Linked DNA regions of Homo sapiens: region 2 is linked to region 1. The links are contacts of gene promoters, found by promoter capture Hi-C in human tissues and cell types (Jung and others, 2019). All regions are on one chromosome and are shown on one strand. The core of a region is centred on a gene start or on the middle of the fragment in contact, and the rest is flanking DNA. Distances in the headings are between cores, read along the strand shown. Region 1 holds the start of MRPL27 (mitochondrial ribosomal protein L27). Region 2 overlaps COL1A1 (collagen type I alpha 1 chain).

Region 1 (5,090 bases), core at 1,944-4,443:
TCATACCCTGCCCATGCCTTGGCAAACAGTCCCTTTATTCAATCTTCTTTTAATTACCCTGAGTTGAATGTGCCATCTGTCTTCCTGCTGGGGCCCTGATAAGTATCCTTTAAAATAAAAGCATATTTATCCTGTAATTGTAAGGGGAGGAGAGGGAGGAAATGTCAGCCAGAAAACTCCTACCTCAGACGGCCCAGCCCTTCTCCTCCAAGTGACACTGCAAGGCACAGCCTGCGCCTCAATCACACAGCGGCACTCCATGGTCTGCAGTGCTCCTAGGAGCTGGCCCCCACCTTCCATCTGTAAGAGCACTGCAACAGATGGAAAAGGGACTGTCAGTGGGGGGTCCAGAACGCAGATAACTCAGCACAGGACAAAGACACATGTGAGGACCTGGATCCAGCACTACAATGATGTGTTTTAAGCATTCCTCTGGCCTCTGGGCTTTCATCCTGGTAACCAGTGCTGCATTCTTTCTTTCCTGTCTTCTCAGGGTGCTTTCCTTCTGCCTTGCTTGTCTCTGCTGCCGGCATCCGTGTGAGCCTCTTCCCTGGACCTTCTGACTCGGCTTGGTTTTCTTCTGGGGTGGAAGGATGTCAGAATTTGTTTTGGTTACTGCCAAGCTGCTGCTCTGGCCAGGGCAGGTAGACAGGTAGGCTGGAAGCTGACAGCATGGATCTAAGATCAGGTCCTTGTTATCTGCTGCACTCCTCTCTGGGGTATCATGGAGGGGAACTTCAGGGATCTTTGGAAAGGGCTTTTTCCAGTCACATGATGCACCTTCATTATTTTGATGATCCAAAACACTTTTAACTGGGGAGCTAGAGTCCTCAGGGCTCAGTTGCTTGTGGGTCAGAAACTTACATGTAAGCCTTTGAGCCAGAGGAATAAATTCTTCTTCATCTTCACTTTCACTGCTTAGCAACCTGACTGGCTGTGTTTGTGTGACAGTTTCAGCTATTTCTGGGACAGGTGGTGAAAATAACTCTGGTGCTGGAGGACAGGAGGCTTCACAATCTGAGATGTCAACCACTACAATCTTCTCTTCCCTTTCAGGCTGTCTCCTCTTTGTTGAAGATGGTTCCTTCTTCAGAAAGGCAAATGTTGGCAACTCCTCAGAGTCACTATCACCAGAATCCAGTGAGGGTGATGACTTCTTTAGAGCCATCAGTATGTGCTATCAAATAATTCCCTAAAAGGAAAAGAGACATATGACACAGACTGGAGCATTCAATTCAGTCCACTAGCTGTGTTCCATAGCCAGGCTTTATGACATAAATATAAGATATAGAGAATACAGAAACAGAGAAATATGACATGGCCCCAACACATTCAATCTGGAACTCTAACTCCTGGTAATCTAACAGGAATCCTCCTCAAATTCTTTCCAGGTCAAGCTGAAGTATAAACAAAGTAGAGTTACCATTACAAAATTTTAATGGGGGGAGGTGGTAACAAGATTTAACACCTCCAACCCCTTGTTTATCTTCACGTTTGAAATGGAGATGTCAAAAGTTCTTCTTTTTTTTTTTTGAGATGGAGTCTCACTCTGGCACCCACGTTGGAGTGCAGTGGCACAATCTTGGCTCACTGCAACCTCACTCCCAGGTTCAAGTGATTCTCCTGCCTCAGCCTAGCTGGGATTACAGGCGCCCCACCACCACACCTGGCTAATTTTTGTATTTTTAGTAGAGATGCGTTTTCATCATGTTCGCCAGGCTAGTCTTGAACTCCTGACCTCAAGTGATCCGCCCGCCTTGGCCTCCCAAAGTGCTGAGATTACAGGTGTGAACCACTGCACCTGGCCAAAAACTGTTCTTTTTAAAAATTGAGATATAGGCTGGGCATGGTAGCTCATGCGTATAATCCCAGCACTTTGGGAGGCCAAAGCAGAAGGATCACTTGAGCCCAGGAGTTCGAGAACAGCCTGGGCAACATAGTGAGAACTCGTCTCTACAAAAAAATACAAAAATTAGCTGGGTATGGTGGCTCACACCTGTAGTCCCAGATACTCAGGAGGCTGAGGTGGGAGGATTGCTTGAGCCTGGGAGGTCAAGGCTGCAGTGAGCTGTGATTGTACGACTGCACTCCAGCCCGGGTGACAGAGTGAGACCCTGCTTCAAAAGAAAAATAAAATAAAAATAAAAATAGAGATATAATTTGCACAGCATAATATCCTTTTAAAAGTGTACATTCAGTAGATTTTAGTATATTCACAATGTTGTGCAACCATCATCACTATTTTATCACCTCAAAAAGAATTCCTGCAGCCATTAAGCCGTCACTGTCCTTTCCCTCCCTCCCCAGCTCCTGGCAACCATAAATCTGTCTCTATGCATTTGCCTATTCTGGATATTTCATATAAATAGAATCATACACTATGTGGCCTTTTGTGATTGACTTTTTTCACTCAGCTTGTTTTCAAGGTTTATCTATGATGTAGCCTGTATCAGTAGTTAATTGCTTTTCATGACTGAATAATATTCCACTGTATGGATATGCTACATTTTGTTTATCCATTCATCACTTGGACATTTAATTTGTTTCCTTTTTTTGCCTGTTATGAATAATGCTGCTATGAACACTGACATACAAGTTTTTGTGGGGGTATGTTTTCAAATCCCTTTCGTGTATATACCTAGGAGTAGAATTGCTGGGTCATATGCAAAGCTAATCATTTCTTGAACATTTACTAACACTGTAGGTATGACCCAGAAGGAGACATGTAACCTGCCTAGGCCTCAGTTTCTTCCTTAGTAAAACAGGGATGGTAACAGCACCCATTTTATAAGGTAGTGAGAATTAAATAAAATAATGCATCCACCGCGCTTAGTACAGCATCTGGCACACAGCTGGCTAAGTAGAGTAAGTTGAATGACTAGGGAGGGGGCCTCATCTCTGACCCTTCGCTGGGCCTCCGTTGACATCTGCAAATCAGGGGAGTGGGACAAGCGGGCCCCTGCCCGACAAGCTCTGCGCCTCTCAGGCTGGCGGTCCGCTGCAGAGGCTCCTGGACACCTTAGCCACCAAGATTCTGCAGAGCGGTGTTCAGGAGGGAAGCCCTGCCCAATCCGCAGGCCTGCGACCGGGGACGCTCACCTGCAACTTCTCCCGCCACTCTTTCAACTGCCACGCAGGGCCCGGAAGTAGATCTCCTGATAGCGGAAGTAGAAACTTTTCGAGACCGGAAGTGAGTGATCGAAAGCATGGCGTCGGTGGTGTTGGCGCTGAGGACCCGGACAGCCGGTAATGGGACGCAGTAGTCAGAGCGGGGTGAGGCGGGGAGGCAGAGTGGAGCTCCAGCAGGGAGGGAAGGAGGTGACACTGATCCCCGCGGAGGACCTTGGATGCGAGGGGAAGTGTGTGGGGTACTCCAGGTTTGAGGGACGGTGTCGCTGGTCACGTGACACATCCTGGGTGGAGCCGTGAGTGAGGGCGTTTGAAGAGCACTTGTCTTTCTCCTGCCTCAGCAGCACGGACGGGTTCCTTGGCGGTTGGGGATTTGGGTGGGTCCTTTCTCTGTAGAAGTATTAGTAACATTGGCATATTGGGGTTGAAAAAATTAATCTATTGATTCAGCAGATTGAGGTCTTACTTTGTGCTAGACACGGCGGTAGGTGTTCGGAAAATCAGCAGAAAACGTGAAGACTTGGCTTCTAGCCCCCGAACGGTTCTCTCTGGTGCATAAGGCAATAAATGAACATATAAAGTAGATGTAGACTGGCAAGTGCTGTGAAGAAGGATAATGTGTGTCTGTGTGTGTGTCTTTTTTTAGATTGGACGGTGAAGGAAGGCTTCTGAGGAGATAACATTTAAAACCTAAAGAATGACAGGCGGGGCGTGATGGCTCACGCCTGTAGTCCCAACACTTTGGGAGGCCTAGGTGGGCGGATCGCTTGAGCCCAGGAGTTCAAGACCGACTGGGCAACATGGCAAAACCCCATCTCTACAAAAAATACAAAAATTAGCTGGGTGTAGTGGCGCTTGCCTGTGGTCTCAGATACTCAGGAGGCTGAGGTGGGAGGATCACCTGAGCTCGGGAGGTCGAGGTTGCAGTGAGCTATGTTCATACCACTGCACTCCAGCCTGGGTGACAGAATGGGGCCCTATCCCCCCCCCCCAAAAAAAAAAGAATGACAGGAGACCTAGACCTGTGTAGAGTGAGGGACAGGAGAGTGACTTGAGCCAGTTTTACATTTTGAGAAGCAAACTATTGCTCTTATGTAAATTTAAAGGGGATAGGAGTGGAAATGAGGAAATCAAATGGAAAGTCGTAATAGCCCTGAGGAGAGATGATTTAGCCAAGATGTTTGTGGTGGCAGTGAACTTGGAGGAAAACGGATGAATTTGAGATCTGTTTTGGAGTTAGCATCCACAGAGCTTGCTGGTGAACAATATGTGAGGACAGCAAAGAGAAGGAATCTGCAATGACTCTGGTTTCTGCCTAAGCAACTGGATGAATGGTGGTACCATTTACTTTGAGGAGGAGGATGGGGAGTAGGGTGAAGAGCAAAGATTTGTGAGTGAGATAATGTAAGTAAAGTAAAAGCCCAGCTCCTGAGCTTAGTAAGTATGTAAATGAATGAATAGATGTTTAAAGGTAGGTAGATCCTGGCGCCGGGCATGTTTTAACATGTTGTCTTTCTGAGTCCTTATCTCTGGTCCTTTGCCCCAGCTAGTCTCTGGTGTCATGGAAATGTCAGAAACCCAGGCTTCAGGAACTCTGAACTTATAGGCTCCAGAGACCCACAAGGCTTCTCTAAAGACACTGGCATGGACCTTAAATCATGGCTGTGTCTGGAGACCTGCAGGCAAGGAGTTGCACCCCTAGGCTTGTCATACAGCAAGGGACTACCATCTTAGTATGAATTTTAGTTCATTTTACTTCTGCAAATGAATGCTATTGAGCACTTTGGAATGAGTATGGAGAGGTCAGATTAACAAGGGCAGTGTGTGGGTCATGGTTGGACCTCTGCTTGATGTGCTTTGAGAAGAAAGGGCCCAGCCTTCTGAAATGGCCAGGACCCTGTGGGAGCCACTTTTAGGCCAGCCATCCTTTTGGTTTACTAGTATTTGGTGAGCAGTGGATG
Region 2 (2,500 bases), core at 1-2,500, 180 kb after region 1:
AACCCTAACTCCCTTTCTCCACAGGGAGAGCCCGGCAAGGCTGGAGAGCGAGGTGTTCCCGGACCCCCTGGCGCTGTCGTAAGTATCTCCTTTCCATCCCTACCTCCTTCCCATTGCTGCCCCGGCACTTTCTCCTCCCTGCAGGAGGGGTGCTAGAGGCCACGGTCCTCAGCTGCTCGGGGCCTCCTAACCCTGAGTTCCCCTTTGCTCTCTCCCTGCAGGGTCCTGCTGGCAAAGATGGAGAGGCTGGAGCTCAGGGACCCCCTGGCCCTGCTGTGAGTGTCCCTGATGGGGAGATCTGGGGAGCAGAAAAGGGGAGACACCCTCAGCCCCTCGTCTCCTCGGCCTCCCCGTGACTGTAGTGTTCTCTCTGTGCAGGGTCCCGCTGGCGAGAGAGGTGAACAAGGCCCTGCTGGCTCCCCCGGATTCCAGGTGAGGCCTCATGGCTGTCAGGATGCTGGGAGGTAGGGGTAGGAAACACCTCTTTGGTCTCTTCCAGATTCTAAACCTTCCCTCCCTTCTTCCCCCATTTCCCACCTACAGGGTCTCCCTGGTCCTGCTGGTCCTCCAGGTGAAGCAGGCAAACCTGGTGAACAGGTAAGAGGGAGCAGCCGGCCAGAGGGGTGGGAGATGCAGGGAATCCAGAGGGACAGGCCCCCGCTCCTAGCTAATCAGACAGCCATCAACTAGAGGGATTGAGGTTAGACGCCGGAAAGAACTTCCTCCCATGAAGGGAGCAGCACAGAGGGAAGTGGGGGCTGCATGATTGCTAGTCTGGGTGACTTCTTTTAAGAGCTGCTGGAATATGCTGTGACTTTCCCTCAACCCTTCTATTGATAAATCTTGGTCCATAGTTTGGGGAGGGGGGAAGCCTTTGACACATCCCTAGGAGGAAGAGAGGGGCTGTTTGGGATAATCTCAATTCAGTGCTGAGAAGGGGTTCCTCTCTAATCACGGCCAGACCCCAGGAGGAAGGACCGTGCTTTCCAGCAGAGTGGCCCCAGGTGGGTTTTGCTCACTGTCTGTTCCTCTCTCCCTCCCCCTCAGGGTGTTCCTGGAGACCTTGGCGCCCCTGGCCCCTCTGGAGCAAGAGTAAGTAGGCCTCTCTCGCTGCATCCGTCAAGGTGCGTCGTACTTGGCCCTATCTCCAGAGCAGCCTTCACATGCCCTGTCCTTCCCTTCTAGGGCGAGAGAGGTTTCCCTGGCGAGCGTGGTGTGCAAGGTCCCCCTGGTCCTGCTGGTCCCCGAGGGGCCAACGGTGCTCCCGGCAACGATGGTGCTAAGGTGAGGGCAGCGTGGAAGGGGCTCTGGCAAGTGGCCCAGGGACCAGGTCTCACCCCTCCTGCAGCAGGGGATGGCGGGCCATGACCAAAGCCATGGAGATAGGGTGTGGGGTGGGGGGAAAAGACCAGGGCAGGGGCCCACACACAGCCTGGAGTCTGGGCTGTGAGTCTTTTCATCTTTTCTCAAGGCTTGTCGTTGGCCTTGGAAACAAGCCTGGGAGATACCAAGCGGGGCTTAGGGCTGTGACCCACTCTTGGGGCCCCAGGCCTCACTCCAGTCTTCTTGGTTGTCACATAGGGTGATGCTGGTGCCCCTGGAGCTCCCGGTAGCCAGGGCGCCCCTGGCCTTCAGGGAATGCCTGGTGAACGTGGTGCAGCTGGTCTTCCAGGGCCTAAGGGTGACAGAGTAAGTTCAACCTTCCCCCTCCCCTGAGCCCTACATGGCTCCCATCTCTGCCTGCTTTGAATCTCTCAGCATCTCTCCTTCTCTCTGGGATCTGTCCCTCTTCTCGCTAATCCTCCCTTCTTCCCCTTTCCCCTCTGGCCTTTTTGCTGATGAATCCTCTCCCTGTGGTCCAGGCCCATCTATCCCCATGGGTTACCATGGTGATGAGAGGTGGGGGCATCTCCTTGGTGGAGGCTCCCTTATTCATCCCGCTACACAAGTCAGGGGCCTCTTAACCTCAGTTCCACCTGAGTCTCCAGGCAGGCACCCTTTTTCCTGAAAGAATCTTTGAGTCCTTGGCCCAGGTGGAGGCAGGGCAGAGCTGCAGAGGGCCTCTCAGGAAACCCAGACACAAGCAGAACACTATAGGTCACCTCCTTGCCCCACACTGGAAATCTCAAGCTTATCCATGTCTTTAGGGTGATGCTGGTCCCAAAGGTGCTGATGGCTCTCCTGGCAAAGATGGCGTCCGTGGTCTGACTGGCCCCATTGGTCCTCCTGGCCCTGCTGGTGCCCCTGGTGACAAGGTGAGGTGGCCGCCTCCCCACCTTCTGCCCTAACACATAGCCTCCTCAGCAGGCCTGGGCACGGTTCCGTGGGGTTGCGTTGGGAGAGCAGGTCCTGCCAAACTGAGCTGTCAACCTGGGAACCTGGAGGGACCAGAAGGAGGGGAGGCTCTCCTGGGGTCATCTACTAGGAGTATTCAGGGGAGGCCCTGACCCTGAGCCTCTTGTCCCTTGCTCTCAGGGTGAAAGTGGTCCCAGCGGCCCTG

What was found. Contacts are between HindIII fragments. The study calls those that stand out against the background at their distance.
Region 2: a fragment that was not itself captured here is called in contact with the fragment with the promoter of MRPL27 in region 1 in 1 of the 25 tissues and cell types used here (thymus).

Annotation. Positions count from the first base shown.
Region 1 is chr17:50,371,287-50,376,376 of GRCh38, reverse strand. It overlaps MRPL27 (mitochondrial ribosomal protein L27), which reads left to right and starts at 3,193. Exons shown (of 4, transcript NM_016504.3): 1 at 3,193-3,246. The coding sequence starts at 3,207. It overlaps EME1 (essential meiotic structure-specific endonuclease 1), which reads right to left and starts at 3,148. Exons shown (of 9, transcript NM_152463.4): 1 at 3,100-3,148; 2 at 394-1,192; 3 at 184-311. The coding sequence starts at 1,168. RefSeq lists enhancers at 2,830-3,049, 3,190-3,659. The HindIII fragment of the contact is 32,602 bases long and covers 1-5,090 here.
Region 2 is chr17:50,190,572-50,193,071 of GRCh38, reverse strand. It overlaps COL1A1 (collagen type I alpha 1 chain), which reads left to right. Exons shown (of 51, transcript NM_000088.4): 26 at 25-78; 27 at 222-275; 28 at 379-432; 29 at 544-597; 30 at 1,048-1,092; 31 at 1,186-1,284; 32 at 1,582-1,689; 33 at 2,148-2,255; 34 at 2,476-2,500. Among named protein-coding and RNA genes, the nearest start is that of COL1A1, 9.8 kb to the left of the region's middle. The HindIII fragment of the contact is 7,477 bases long and covers 1-2,500 here.